Linked DNA regions of Homo sapiens: regions 2, 3, 4 and 5 are each linked to region 1. The links are contacts of gene promoters, found by promoter capture Hi-C in blood cells and fetal thymus (Javierre and others, 2016). All regions are on one chromosome and are shown on one strand. The core of a region is centred on a gene start or on the middle of the fragment in contact, and the rest is flanking DNA. Distances in the headings are between cores, read along the strand shown. Region 1 holds the start of KRT26 (keratin 26). Region 2 has its middle 15 kb from the start of KRTAP17-1. Region 3 overlaps KRT33A (keratin 33A). Region 4 holds the start of KRTAP16-1 (keratin associated protein 16-1). Region 5 holds the start of KRT34 (keratin 34).

Region 1 (2,700 bases), core at 34-2,533:
CTGACCTCAAGTGATCTGCCTGCCTCAGCCTCCCAAGGTGCTGGGATTACAGGCATGAGCTACTCTATCCAACCATGATAGCTCTTTTTATAACGGCTTATTTAATTCAATTTCTTTATTGATCTAGTCTGGCTTTAGAAAAACATTTTGGTTTTCAAAGCAAAATATATATTCCTTAATCCAATTGTAATATTTTAACTTTTATTAATATAATTAATCAGTTTGTTTTCACCTACTTCAGCCTGAAGTCATCAGCGGTCAGTCTGGCATTGTCATTTTGTAGAACAATGCTGGCATTGCAGATGGTCGCAGAAATAATCTAAATAGGGAAGATTGTGAAAAATGTTAATTACCAAAAGTCAAAGGAGGCTCCAGACTTCAGTGTGATTTTATATCTTCTTAATCTGTCAAACATCTGTTTTAGTATCTTTTTTCTATGTTAAAGAAATCTGGATTTTCTTCAGATAATAAGCATCCAGAGCTTAAGAGCCACATAGATACTTTTACTACTTTTGATCAAATGGTATGAGCTAAATATATGAAAAACGAAGTGACTATATCTGTTTTGAAATGATTTCTTTTTCATTATTTAATTCTACAAGATTTTATTGCCAGGTACTGTGCTTAGCACTGGAAATACAGAGTGAACAAATCTTACATCACATAAATTTGTTAGGCACATTTTATATTTTCTCTTCTTTAAATTATCAACACACAAAGTCTGTAGTAAAAGTATGCAAATCCCTATTTCTTACCTGCCTTTTAAGATCTTCTATGACTGAGAAGTATCTGCTATAGTCATGATCGTGTTCCCGGGAAGAGCCAGGCTCACATTTCTCGTACCAGCCCTTGATCTTCTGCTCCAGGTCTGCGTTGGCCTCCTCTAGAGCATGCACATGGTCCAGGTAGGATGCCAGGCGGTCGTTGAGATTCTGCATGGTCACCTTTTCATTCCCAGAGAGGAGGCTGTGCTCATTGCCAAGAAAACCAGCACAGGCACCACTTCCCAACCCTCCACCGCTATTGCAGAAGCTTCCTCCAGAAGAGATGCCCTCAAGAGTACAAGAAAAGCTGCTTCTTGCTCCCGATCCAACACACACATTCCCAGCCACGAAGCCTGTTCCTCCACCGGACAGCCTACCAGACCCAGTTCGCGAGCAGATCCTCCTGGATCCACCAGAAAGTCGAAAAGACATGGTGGCAGCACAGCCGGGCAACCCCTTCCCAGAAAGAGGAGCAAAGCCAGGGTTCACCTTCCACACTTGTTAGCTCCCTTGGCCTTTTATAGTATTCACTGGGTCATTTCAGTCTTGACTATGCCAGTCTGTAATAAAATTTACTTGCATCCTAATTGTTGTTTTTCACAATTGGGTAATTTTTAACAGCGTCCAGTCTGTAGGTGGAAAGGTGCCCCAAGGATATTTTTTATATATAAAAATGGTGCCAGGTGAAGTAAAACTAAATCATAGCCTCAAAGGCCAAAATTAAATATGACTAAATGTGCATCTTTTTGGCCACTGGAATATTAATAGAATCTAGATTCTCCCCCTGCCACATATAACAAAGAATTAATAATTCCAATGAGAAATGTCTCCTACTTTTGTCCTGTTAACGCTCATAGAGTATTTCTAGTATTCCCACTTCATTGAGTGCTTCCTTTCTTCCTTTCGTTTCTTTTTCTTTTTTCCTTTTTTTAAAGATATGTGGTCTCGCTATGTTTCCCAGGCTGGTCTCGAACTCCTGGCCTCCAGTGATCCTCAGCCTCAGCACCCAGCTCAGCCTCCTGTGGCCAGCATTACAGGTGTGAGCCACTGCCCTGGGTGTCTGGGTGTGTGTTTTCCTTCTTATCAAAACCAGAAAATCTCAGCATCTATTGATCTTTTGGTAGTGGGAGATTTTAAAAGAAATCTACCATTTCTTGAATTGAAAACTGAAGTAATAGAAATCCTGCAGTCCTGCTTATTGTTAATTTCAATATAATTCATGAATATGTGATGATGGTGGAGAATTAATTCGATTGAGATTTCTTGGTTTGGTCCAGGAGCAGGACATCAATTCAACTAACAGTCTCCAAATTGTTCACTTCCCTACCCCTAAATAGTGTTTACTGTCTTTTAGTTTAAATGTATGTATTTAAGACATTAGGAATTATTTTGAGAAGTGAGCATCATATTGATTAGCAAGGAGTAAAATATATAAGGAGGGAGGTGTTTTCATCATTACCTAGAAAACCAGTACTTATAGTACCCTAGAGAGAAGATAAGTTGTCACAGGGAAGTACTCTTTATTCTCTTGCCTTGATGCTCTTGGGAAGTTATCCAGGCTTGGATCATTTCCCTACTGGGCAAATGAAAATAATAGCATCAAAGAGTCTCAAATGAATGTTGAGCAGTTCCAATCATGAATGACGATAAGACAGTTTGAAAGGCACAAACATTTTTAAATGTTAATTATTTAAATTATTATAATAAAGTGGACATGTCAGACAGGGTCGGGTCTCTATCACCTATAATGATACAAATTGATTGGTTAACTAATTATGGGTTTAGTTTTGAAACAGTAATTTTCTTCCGAATGATATTTTTCAATGTTGTGGATAGTGAATCCTTTGGAAAACATCCAACATTATTGTCACTAAATCGTATGGAACATTTAGTGGACTGCATGGATTTTCTAAATCAAAAATATTTAAAAATAAAT
Region 2 (2,700 bases), core at 88-2,587, 560 kb after region 1:
CCAGCTGCCAGTGCAGGCTCTCCTGACAGCAGGGCACCCTGCAGCCCTCACCTCAGCAGCTCAGACTCTGAAGGTATCTGTTGTTCATGTTCCCAGTGCTCCCACCAAAGAGAATTACTACAGAGAATACTCTTGGTCCTGAGGTGGGCAAAACAGCATGCCCTGTGGATGGAGCCGGCTTCTTTCCCAGCCACCATGCTTGCTGGATGGGCCCGCAGAGCAAGTGGCCATGAGACGGGCATGGGGACGGGAGAGGCTCAGCATCCTGCACATGCCCTTACCAAGGCTCACCAGGCTGACACCACTGCTGAGCGCCTTGTCTGTGGAAAACAGATTCACACCCAACCCCTGGGATGGCACCATTTCCCAGAAGGACCAGCTGGCCACCTACTGGCAGGCTGACCACACTGCGGAAGGGGCTGAGATTGGCTTTCACTGCACTGAGCCACAACGTGGACATGCACTTGCCGGCCCTGCAGTGCACACAGCACTGCTTCCGACCAGGGCACCCCATTCACAGCTAGGGACAAGCAGCAGTACACTCCCGAGGCCCCACAACCCAAACAAGCTTCCCATCCTCGTTTTACTTTTTTGTTAAACTTATGAAAATTTATGAAGAAAGTGCACAGCTCTAAAGACATTAACAGATGGAACACATCAGCCCCCAGATCACAAAGCCAACCCAGCCTCTGCGCCCCCAGCCCTGCAACCAGTGTTCTGACTTCTGACAACACCATGAGCCTGCCTTTTGTACTTTACACTCATGGAAGGATAACCACGTCCATGTTTTAAAATAAATGTTTACTTTTGAAATGATTTTAGATATATAGAAAAACTGAAAAGGCATTATAGTGTACTCCGACACCTTCCGTCCAGCTGCCCCTAATAATGACATTTTGCATTACCATGGCACATTTGTCCAAATTAAGAAATTTAGGCCAGGTGTGGTGGCTCACACCTGTAATCCCAGCAGTTTGAGAGGCCAAGGCAGGAGGTTAAGGTTCATTTGAGTCCTGGAGTTTGAGACCAGCCTGGGCAACATAGGTAGACCCTATCCCTGGAGAAAAGTTAAAAAAAAAAAAAAAAAAAAATAAGGAGCCAGGCATGGTGGCGTGTGCCTATAGTCCCACCTAATCAGGAGGCTGAAGCAGGAGGATCGCTTGAGCCCAAGAGATCCAGGAAGCAGTGAGCTATGATCGCACCACTGCATTCCAGCCTGGGCGACAGAATGAGACTTTCTCTCTTAAAAAAAAAATTAAGGAATTTAACATGGGTGCAATCCTGTTAACTGAATAATAATGTTAACTATTATTTAAGGTTATTAATGCTGTCACTATATTAATATGGTGAAATTCATTCAGATTTCACCTGTTTTTGCTTAACTTCTGGTACCTGTCCCAGGATCCCACCTCGGACTCACCTTCTGTCTTTAGGTCATTCCTCCTTAGCTTCCTTCAGAGGTTGCAACCAAACACACACCTTGGCTGAATGGTAGAGCTGATTGCTCCTGGGCTCCAAACCTCTGCAGCATGTTACCATACTGAGTACCATAGGTAGTGGTAACACAATGATGGCTATTTGTGTATCTAAACACAGAAAAGAATGATAAAAATACAGTATAAATGATAAAAAAAAAAAAAAATTGGTACACCTGGCCAGATGTAGTGGTTCATGCCTATAATCCCAGCACTTTGAGAGACCATGCCGGGAGGATCACTTGAGCCCAGAAGTTCTAGACTAGTCTGGGCAACATAAAAAGACCCCATCTCTTTTTAGATATCAATTTTTAGAGATGGTACACCTGTATAGGGCAGCTCCATTATAACCTTATGGGACCACCATTCTATATGCATTCTGGCACGGACTGAAATGTTGCTATCTGACACATGATTGCATAGGTAAGTAATCTAGAGATGATTTAAAGCATATGGGAAGATGTGCTTAGGTTATATGCAAATACTGTACCATTTTATATCAAGACTGGAGCATCTGTGGATTTTGGTATTTGTGGGAGGTGGTGAAACTGATTCCCGACGTACGCAGAGAGACAACTGTAAACATTTCGGACCCCACAGAAGGCTCAATTGCCTGCCCCCTCACCCTCAGGTAAGCTTTCTAAAGTGTTTGTTTCACTTTACCTGCTCATCCGTGAGCCAGAGGGCTCCATCAACAGCTTGGGCTGTCTCAGAAAGACCTGGATTCAATCCCATTCAGCCACTTAGTAGCTGTGTCACTTTGGGCAAATCATGTAACTTCTCTGAACCTCAGTGTCCTCATCTGTAAATTGGGCCGATGGTGACCCTTACTTTGCAGGCCCCCGTGAGGACTAAGTGAGATGAAAGCTGACACCCCAAGTGACACCACTTCTCCCTTCCTCAGACTCAACAGGAAAACGCCTTCACTGCCCAATGCAAAGGCTATGGGGAGGATGAGAGGCTCCAGGGATCCCCTGTCCCAGGAGCATAAACCCTGGATTTTTGCTTCCAGAAATAACCTTCTCTAGGATCAGGATGGTTCTTAACTCCCCAAAGACTGTGAGCCCACCCTAGGCGGCATCTTCAGCAGTGGGGAAGGGGATGCACAGTGCCAGCCTCACCCTGGCCACTGTCTGCCCTCATGACTCAGAGCCCAGCTAGGTCCCCACGCAGAGCAGTGCAGGAACCTACCTTGGTCCCAGGCTCCAGCCATCCCGGCCACCCC
Region 3 (2,700 bases), core at 1-2,500, 580 kb after region 1:
ATTGTTCCTCCTTGGACTTCCTCCAAACAAAAGCTTGAAATTATAAATTCATTTCCATCAAGAAGACTATTCATCTCCACAGCAACCTAACATGCCCCAAGGAGAAGATTACTACCCCCATACTGACTTGCAGTCCTCGCTCTCCAGCAGGCTCCGGTACGTGTTGATCTCACACTCCAGCCGCGCCCGCACGTCCAGCAGCACCTGATACTCCTGGTTCTGCCGCTCCAGGTCACTGCGGATCTCCGCCAGCTGGGACTCCACGTTGGTGATCAGTCTCTGCACCTGGGACAGCTGGGAGCTGTAGCGGGCCTCGCTCTCTGTCAGCGTGTTTTCCAGAGAGTCTCGCTGTGGTGGGGAAGATTGAGAGTGTCAGAGAGCTGCTCCTTATAAGGTTCCTCCATGGGGTTCCAAAGAACTCACAAGCTCCAAGAGCTAAGGAGAGTGTGTGGCCCCAAGGGCATCCCCAAGACTCTGCCTCCCAAGTTCCCATCGCTCACCAGCAGGTCTGAACAATACACACCAGGTTGTGCTGGGCCTGCAGCTCGATCTCCAGGGCATTGACCGTGCGTCTCAGCTCGATGATCTCCGCCTGGTAGGACTGCAGCTGCTCCGAGCTGGATACCACCTGCTTGTTCAGCTCCTCGGTCTGAAACACCCAAGGGGAGAAAGGATCAGACCCTGCCTCCGGGGCCCTGGGGGGCCTCGGGTCCTGAGTGGCCACGTGCTTAGATGCCCACCTGCGTGGCGAACCATTGCTCCACTTCCCTGCGGTTGGTTTCCACCAGGGCCTCATACTGACTCCTGGTCTCATTCAGGACCTGGTTCAGGTCCACAGTGGGAGCAGCGTCCACCTCCACGTTGAGGCGGTCTCCAAGCTGGCAGCGCAGGGTGTTAACCTCCTGATGGAGAAAGGGCAAAATTTTAAATTTCACAAAGGATCTTGGTGCTCTCCTTAAGAGAATGCAATTCAACTTCTGATCATTCTTAAGCTTTCAAGAAACTTTGTTCCCTCTGATCCTGTCACTAACCAGGATCTATATTCAATGACTAATTTGTATACTCCACTTTTTACAAACTACTTTCAAGCCCATGACTTCCCTCTGCTCTTTGTATTAAATGTATCACTCCTCATTTAGAGAGATTCAGTGATTTGGGCTCAAAGCTGATACATGGTGGGCCATTATTTAAACTCTGGTCCCCAAATGCCCAGTTCAGTGTTTTTGCTAGTATACCATATAGCCTCACATGTTTGACTCTTAAGCATGGATAATAAAAAGAACAGAGTCTAGCTAAAGAGGAAATACAGAATGCTTACTTCAAAATCTGCCATCCTGGCATAGAAGAGACTTAAAGGGTGATTTGTTGATTCCACCAGCATAGATTTTGCTGAAGGCAATAAGTATCTGTTTACTTCCCTGCTAAGCATAGCTTGGTACTTGGGCTTAGGCGGATTTCAGACAAATTTGTATTCAACCTCATCTCTACCACTTAATACATTGCTTCTAGAAGCTTCTTGAAGCCTCGATTTCTTCATCTTAACATGAGAACTGCCTCCGGAGTTAAAGCACTTAGCACAATGTTTGGCACATACTAAGCACTTGATTAATATTAACTGTCACCATTTACATTGTTCTTGGATTTCAGGTTGCATAAAATACACGTCTTCTTTTTTGCCCAACTGACTTAGCCATAATGGTGAGCATTTTGCTCAAGGCTGTTTCCAAGCAACACTGAACAGCAAGCAGAAAGAGCTCTGGACAGGAACGAAGAGAATTGCATTTTGTTCTAGCTCAGCCCTCTCTGCCTGATGGGCCTAGGCCATCCTGGCTTCTCCAGCTACAAATGGAGAATTGGAATAGAAGATTGCTGCTGCATGCACTCTAACCTGGGCACAGGAGAGGCTGTGGCTTCTGCCTCATTACCCAGCTTTCCTCACTACTGGGCTTGCCAACTTCCTCACTCTCATTCCTGCCTCTGGCAGAAAAATCCTAATCTCATATCACAGGTTTTTAGATTAGTCATTCTCTACATATCCCTTTTTGTATGCAGAATTACTTCCTCAGCTAATTGAGCCTCTACTGACAGCCTGTCCTGGACCCTGTGGCAGTTGTGAAACAGGTCCTGGCTAGTCTGAGCCCATCACTCTTCAGGGAACTCACCTGCTCATGGTTCTGCTTGAGGCACAGCAGCTCCTCCTTCAGGGACTCCACCTGGGCCTCCAGGTCAGACCTGCACAGGGTCAGCTCATCCAGGATCCTGCGCAGGCCATTGATGTCCGACTCCACCAGCTGCCGCAGGGACAGCTCGGTCTCATATCTGTGATCACAGGAGGGTCAGGAACAGGCTGGGCAGGAATAGGCCTGGCCTTGACTCTGCTTTGGTTTGGTTAGTCAGGCAACTAGGAATTAGGGTTTGTAGTTTTTATAGCCATCTCTTTTGTTTAGGTTTTCAGCATCGAGCTGGAAGAAAATGCACTGGTAATTTTACGTTTAAAGATCCAGTGGATAGACTTCTATATTCCTAGCTATTCAGGAGGCTAAGGGGAGAGGGTTGCTTGAGCCCAGGAGTCTGAGGATCTGAAGTTACACTGAGCTATGATTGCACCACTGCCCTCCAGCCTGGGTGACAGAGCAAGGCCCTGTCTCTAAAAAAAAGAAGAAAGCCAGTGGATTTAGGATAAAAGCTGACAAACTGTAA
Region 4 (2,700 bases), core at 118-2,617, 540 kb after region 1:
AGGCTGGGCGGCGCAGGATGGAGTAGCATGGGCGATAGCAGGCAGGACGGTAGGAGATGGATGTCATGTATGGCTGCCTATAGGTGAGGAGTCCAGAGCAGATTGGGCGGCAGATCGGACGGGAGACCGGGCGGTAGGAAATCGTAGCACTGCAAGGCCGTTTGCTGGAACTGGGTATGTAGAAAGTCCTAGGACAAGTTGGTCGGCAGATGGCAGATGCAGAAGACCCTGGACTGCAGGAAAGAGGTCGGCAGGAGGTAGATGGGCAGGAAACTGGCTCAGGGCAGACAGAAGGACAGCGCTTGACTACATAGCAAGTAGGTTGGCATGGACTGGACACACAGACAGCTGGTGAGCAGGGGCTGGGCTCAGAGCAGATGGGTTGGCAGATACTGGAGACACAACAAGAAGGCTCTTGGCAAGTGCTGGGGACAGAAGGTGGCTCGCACGAGCTCTGAACACAGCAGACAGGGCGGAGGCAAACTGGCTCACAGACCAGAGCCACACACGTAGCTGGCTGGCAGATGCTAGACTCTGAGCAACTTGGCTCACAAGGGCTGGGGTCACAGCAGACAGCCTGGCAGCTACTGGTCACAGAGCAGGTAGGTGTCGGGCACACCGGCTGACAGCAGGAAGGCTCACAGACCACAGGTTGGCAGGAACTAGGCAGGGTGCAGACAGCTGAACAGCAGCTGGGCTCACAGACAACTGGCTGGCAGCAGCTGGATTTGCAGAGGACAGGCTGGCAGGAAGTGGGCACACAGAGGACTGGTTGGCAGGAAGTGGCTTCAGAGCCTACAGGCTGGCAGCAGCTGCTCACGGAGCAAGAAGGCTCACAAATAGCAGGCTCACAGCACACAGGTTGAGCACAGCTGCTCACGGAACAAGAAGGCTCACAAACGGTGGCCTCAAAGCACACAGGTTGGCAGCAGTTGCTCACTGAGCAAGAAGGCTCACAGATGGTGGCCTCGAAGCACACAGGTTGGTAGCAGTTGCTCACAGAGCAAGAAGGCTCACAGGTGGTGGCCTCACAGCACACGGGTTGGCAGCCGCTGCTCACGGAGCAAGAAGGCTCACAAATGACAGGATCACAGCACAGGGGTTGGGCACAGCTACTCACAGGACAGGAGGGCTGACGGCACTGTGGCCCACAGCTGGATGATCCACAGCTGTCTTGACAAGTCACCAGCTGCCATGTCTGGCTCTGGCAGGAACTGGGCAGGCAGATGGGGCCTCCACAGCTCACCTCAGTGGAGCAGAGAGAGGTGGCTGGCACGGAGAAGCATTTCCTAGAAGAGCAACTGCCAGACATGGTGGAGGTGGCCGTGCTTCCTTGTGCTGAGTGCTGAGAGGTTGCTGCCTCACTGTGACAGCTCCCTGAGGCCCTCACTTTTATACCCCCTCACTGGCGTGTTCTGTTTGGGACTCCTGCATCTTTTCCTCATTGTTGTTTGGGCCAGTTTGCAGAGGAACATCTTATTATACCACCGTTTGTTGATCTGGAAGCTGTTTATCTACCCGTAAAGAAGGTGTTTATTTATTGATGTGCTAAATTTGGAATCCTCAGAGCTACAGGTAGTCTTGGAAGAAGCATCCTCACCTCCAAACTGGATAATCTATATTTCTGAGCATTGTGAACAGGGAAAGAAGAATGAAACTTATGATTTATCCACCTTCTAGTCTTCCATACAGGGCCCTGGGTTGGATTCAGAGGATGCCACAGGAATAAGACCTATTCACCCATTCTCTTGGATCTCGCCTTCTAGTGGGCAGATAAGCATGCAGACAAACTCACTGCAATACAATAATAAGTTCAACAATAGACATACAGAGATTAATTGAGAGGAGAGGTGATGAACTCAGTTGGGAAAAGAACAACTGGGCTGGATTTTAAATGACTGCACCTTACAGCAATGATCTTGCTTAAAACCACCAGCAATCTCATGAGGCAGAGATTTTTCTCCACCATTAGAAATGAATAAATGGTCCAGGAACCATGGCTCACGCCTGTAATCCCAGCACTTTGGGAGGCTGAGGCAGGCAGATCACCTGAAGTCAGAAGTTCGAGACCAGATTGGCCAACATGGCAAAAACCCATCTCCACTAAAAATATAAAAAATAGCCAGGCATGGTGGCACACACCTGTAATCCCAAATGCTTGGGAGGCTAAGGCAGGAGAATCACTTGAACCTGGGAGGTGGAGGTTGCAGTGAGCCAAGATCAAGCCACTGCACTCCTGCCTGGGTGACAGAGGAAGACTCTGTCAAAAAAAGAAAAAGAAAAAAAAGGAAGGAAGGAAGGAAAGAAGGAAGGAAGGAATGAAGGAAGGAAAGAAGGAAAGAAGGAAGGAAGGAAGAAAGAAGGAAATAAAGAAAGAAAAGAAAGAAAGAAGAAAGAAAAGAAGAAAGAAAGAAAGAAAGAAAGAAAGAAAGAAAGAAAGAAAGAAAGGAAAGAAAGAAAGAAAGAAGGAAAGAAAGAAAGAAAGAAAGAAAGAAAGAAAGAAAGAAAAGAAAGAAAGAAAGAGAAAGAAATGAAGAAATGGGGGCAGAGGGTCAGAAAGTTTCAGTCACTTGCTAAAGATCACACACAGTCTGTCCCTGATCTAAGGCGGCTGTCCCTCCTTCTCACCAACCTGTCTAGACCTACCTTTCTCAGAAGACTTCATCAAAGTCACATATCGCCAGCTTAGCCCACCGCTGT
Region 5 (2,700 bases), core at 142-2,641, 610 kb after region 1:
ATGTAGCACCGTCACTCTCTGAGAACATCTTGAGTTCCTCAGAGAAGGGTCCCAGACCAGGGATCCAGACAGTAATCCTCTCCTGATTCCCAGTGCTAGTAGCTTAGTTCTGAGGCCTGCTTTTGTGAATTTGTTTCATACCTCCTCATGGTTCTTCTTCAAGCAGATCAGCTCCTCCCTCAGGGACTCCACCTGGGACTCCAGGTCAGACTTGCAGAGGGTCAGCTCATCCAGGATCCTGCGTATGCTGTTGATGTCCGACTCCACCAACAGCCTCAGGGACTGCTCCGTCTGGTACCTGCACGTGTCGGAGTGGGAGGATAAGTCAGGAAAGAAAACCACCTTCCCCTCTCATGTGTTGTTTGGGTAGAATTGGCCTGAATCTTCTTGAACTTACAGTTTTCTGCCTCTTCTCTTCCATATGCTTCAGTCAAGCTGTCCATGGATAGGCTGAAGAGGTTCCCTGACTCACCTAACACCACGAGGAGCCCACAGGCACACATGAGATGAAGTCTCTCACTGTGTTCTCGGTTTTGTTAGCTAATATACCACCAAATCAATTCCCAAAGAACAATTCATTTCAATCTCTGAATTTTGTGGTTTAAGAAACACTTCCAAAAAAAACCAGTATAGACCAAAGAGCAGGCAGCACATGAGTCTAGTTCCCTATTTGAAACTAATTTTACATAACCAGCCCTAGGAGGAGAAATAGAGAGAAATGGCTTTCTCCTCTCTTCCAGGCAATAGTAGGTCCCTAGGGCCATGAAAGAACCATAGGGACCTTGAAGTTCAACATACTTGCTTCTGAAGTCGTCAGAGGCCAGCTTGGCATTGTCAATGTTCACCACCAGCCTGGCATTCTCAGCCTTGGCACACAGAATCTGAAAAGAAATTTCTCTCATGAGGTACACTTGAACTTGAAAATGTCTTACTGTTCAAAGAGAGCCAGCTGCTGCTGGCCCCCCATATGGCCAACCCCCTCACCTTCTGCTGGAGCTCCTCAATGGTCTTGAAGTAGGACTGGTAGCTGGGGCACAGCAAGGGCTCCTGCTGCTGGGACCGCTCCTGGATGAGTTTCTCCAGCTCCGCGTTGTCCCGCTCCAGCTGACGCACCTTCTCCAGGTAGCTGGCCAGGCGGTCGTTCAGGAACTGCATAGTCTCCTTCTCGCTGCCATTGAAGGAGCCCTCACAGAACCAGTTGCAGTTGCTCACATTGGCGGGGATGTTGCAGGCCCCAGGCAGGGTGTAGCCGTGGCAGCTGGGGGGCACGCAGGGCCGGGAGGAGCAGCTGGTGCGGCAGCCCAGGCTGGGCAGGCAACAACTGTAAGACATGGTGCTGGAACAGGTAATGGAAAAGCAGGTAAGCTGCTGGAGGTGGATGTGGGCAGGTTTGAGTCTCTCCTTCCTCTGCAGTCCTTTTATACCATTAATTGTGGGTGGGGGCTTGGCATACAGCATAGTTTCCTTTCCTAATGCTTCAGCTAATTTTTCTCCAAAATATGCTAGTTAGATGCTTCTAAAGAGTCCCCCCTCAACCCATAAAATTATTCCATTCAGCTTATGTCACACCAGGCTCTTCCTGGGTGCTAGTGGTTGGTGAAATCAGAGTTTCATCAGATGGCTTCATAGGAGATAGAATCATCACAGCCCCAAAAGGCTGTCTGCATTACTCAGAGGGGAGGACAGCCAGGGACATGGGGTGGAGTTGTTTGGGAATCAGGGATTCCTCACCCAGGAGTTTCCGCCACTGTTCTTTCTCCCCAGAGAGAGAGCTCTGAGAGAGAGCTTTGAGAGTTACTCTTCCAAGTAGCTCTTTCCTCCCACATTCATCCATGTTTCAGCATTCAATTTGTTTTTATAGCAGAAACTCAACCTGTATTCGCCGAAATGATCCTGAGCCTTACTATTCGTTGGGGTTTAGGGAACTTGCCAACACATGGAGCAACTGAAAACAATGGCATGTTCATGGTTGAGAAATGAGAAAGTAAAATGGAAACCAATGGAATGGATGGGAGTATACCTAAAAGAGGGCATCTGCAAATGGCAGCCCACACGTCAAGTTTACCCTGCTGAATTTTTGTAAATAAAGTTTTTGTTTGTTTGTTTTCTGTTTTTTTTTTTTTGAGACAGAGTCTCACTCTGTCGCCCAGGCTGGAGTGCAGTGGCACGATCTCGGCTCACTGCAACCTCCACCTCCCGGGTTCAAGCAATTATCTGCCTCAGCCCCCCGAGTAGCTGGGATTACAGGTGCCCGCCACCACACCCGGCTAATTTTTGTGTTTTTAGCAGAAATGGGGTTTCACCATGTTGGCCAGGCTGCTCTTGAACTCCTGAACTCGTGATCCGCCCGCCTCGGCCTCCCAAAGTGCTGGGATTACAGGCGTGAGCCAATGCGTCCGGCAGTAAATAAAGTTTTAATGGAACACAGCCATGCCCATTTGTTTAGCTATTGTATATGGCTGCTTTTGTGCTACAGTGGCAGAGTTGTGTAGTTGTGACAGAGACTATAGTGTCCACAAAGCCCTAAAATTAAAAAATTTGCCAACTTGTACTAAAGCAACAGCCTCTCTAAAGATGAGCAAGAGTAGAAATATCTAGAAGAAAAAATATGCTGGAAACAGTCTGGAGCAGTGAGAGTTCAGATGGCAGCACTGAAGCATGAATATGAAGCATAATACTGCAGACTCACCAAGAAACGAA

The links. The method cuts DNA at HindIII sites, captures the fragments that hold promoters and counts their contacts. A CHiCAGO score of 5 or more calls a contact.
Region 2: a contact is called between a fragment that was not itself captured here and the fragment with the promoter of KRT26 in region 1, in 3 of 17 cell types (endothelial precursors, neutrophils and M2 macrophages). The highest score is 6.0, in endothelial precursors.
Region 3: a fragment that was not itself captured here is called in contact with the fragment with the promoter of KRT26 in region 1 in 1 of 17 cell types (endothelial precursors); the score reaches 5.8 in endothelial precursors.
Region 4: the fragment with the promoter of KRTAP16-1 here is called in contact with the fragment with the promoter of KRT26 in region 1 in 4 of 17 cell types (endothelial precursors, M0 macrophages, M1 macrophages and 1 more); the score reaches 7.9 in endothelial precursors.
Region 5: the fragment with the promoter of KRT34 here is called in contact with the fragment with the promoter of KRT26 in region 1 in 8 of 17 cell types (M1 macrophages, monocytes, M2 macrophages and 5 more); the score reaches 8.8 in M1 macrophages.

The regions. Positions count from the first base shown.
Region 1 is chr17:40,770,918-40,773,617 of GRCh38, forward strand. It overlaps KRT26 (keratin 26), which reads right to left and starts at 1,284. Exons shown (of 8, transcript NM_181539.5): 1 at 756-1,284; 2 at 237-319. The coding sequence starts at 1,196. The HindIII fragment of the contact is 2,390 bases long and covers 1,031-2,700 here.
Region 2 is chr17:41,329,128-41,331,827 of GRCh38, forward strand. It overlaps the pseudogene TBC1D3P7. Among named protein-coding and RNA genes, the nearest start is that of KRTAP17-1, 15 kb to the left of the region's middle. RefSeq lists an enhancer at 414-983. The HindIII fragment of the contact is 1,543 bases long and covers 567-2,109 here.
Region 3 is chr17:41,346,321-41,349,020 of GRCh38, forward strand. It overlaps KRT33A (keratin 33A), which reads right to left. Exons shown (of 7, transcript NM_004138.4): 3 at 2,163-2,319; 4 at 741-902; 5 at 524-649; 6 at 128-348. Among named protein-coding and RNA genes, the nearest start is that of KRT33A, 3.2 kb to the right of the region's middle. RefSeq lists enhancers at 140-640, 641-1,141. The HindIII fragment of the contact is 520 bases long and covers 991-1,510 here.
Region 4 is chr17:41,307,942-41,310,641 of GRCh38, forward strand. It overlaps KRTAP16-1 (keratin associated protein 16-1), which reads right to left and starts at 1,368. Exons shown (of 1, transcript NM_001146182.2): 1 at 1-1,368. The coding sequence starts at 1,312. The HindIII fragment of the contact is 10,229 bases long and covers 1-2,700 here.
Region 5 is chr17:41,380,915-41,383,614 of GRCh38, forward strand. It overlaps KRT34 (keratin 34), which reads right to left and starts at 1,392. Exons shown (of 7, transcript NM_001386014.1): 1 at 985-1,392; 2 at 799-881; 3 at 142-298. The coding sequence starts at 1,332. RefSeq lists an enhancer at 385-1,584. The HindIII fragment of the contact is 8,651 bases long and covers 1-2,700 here.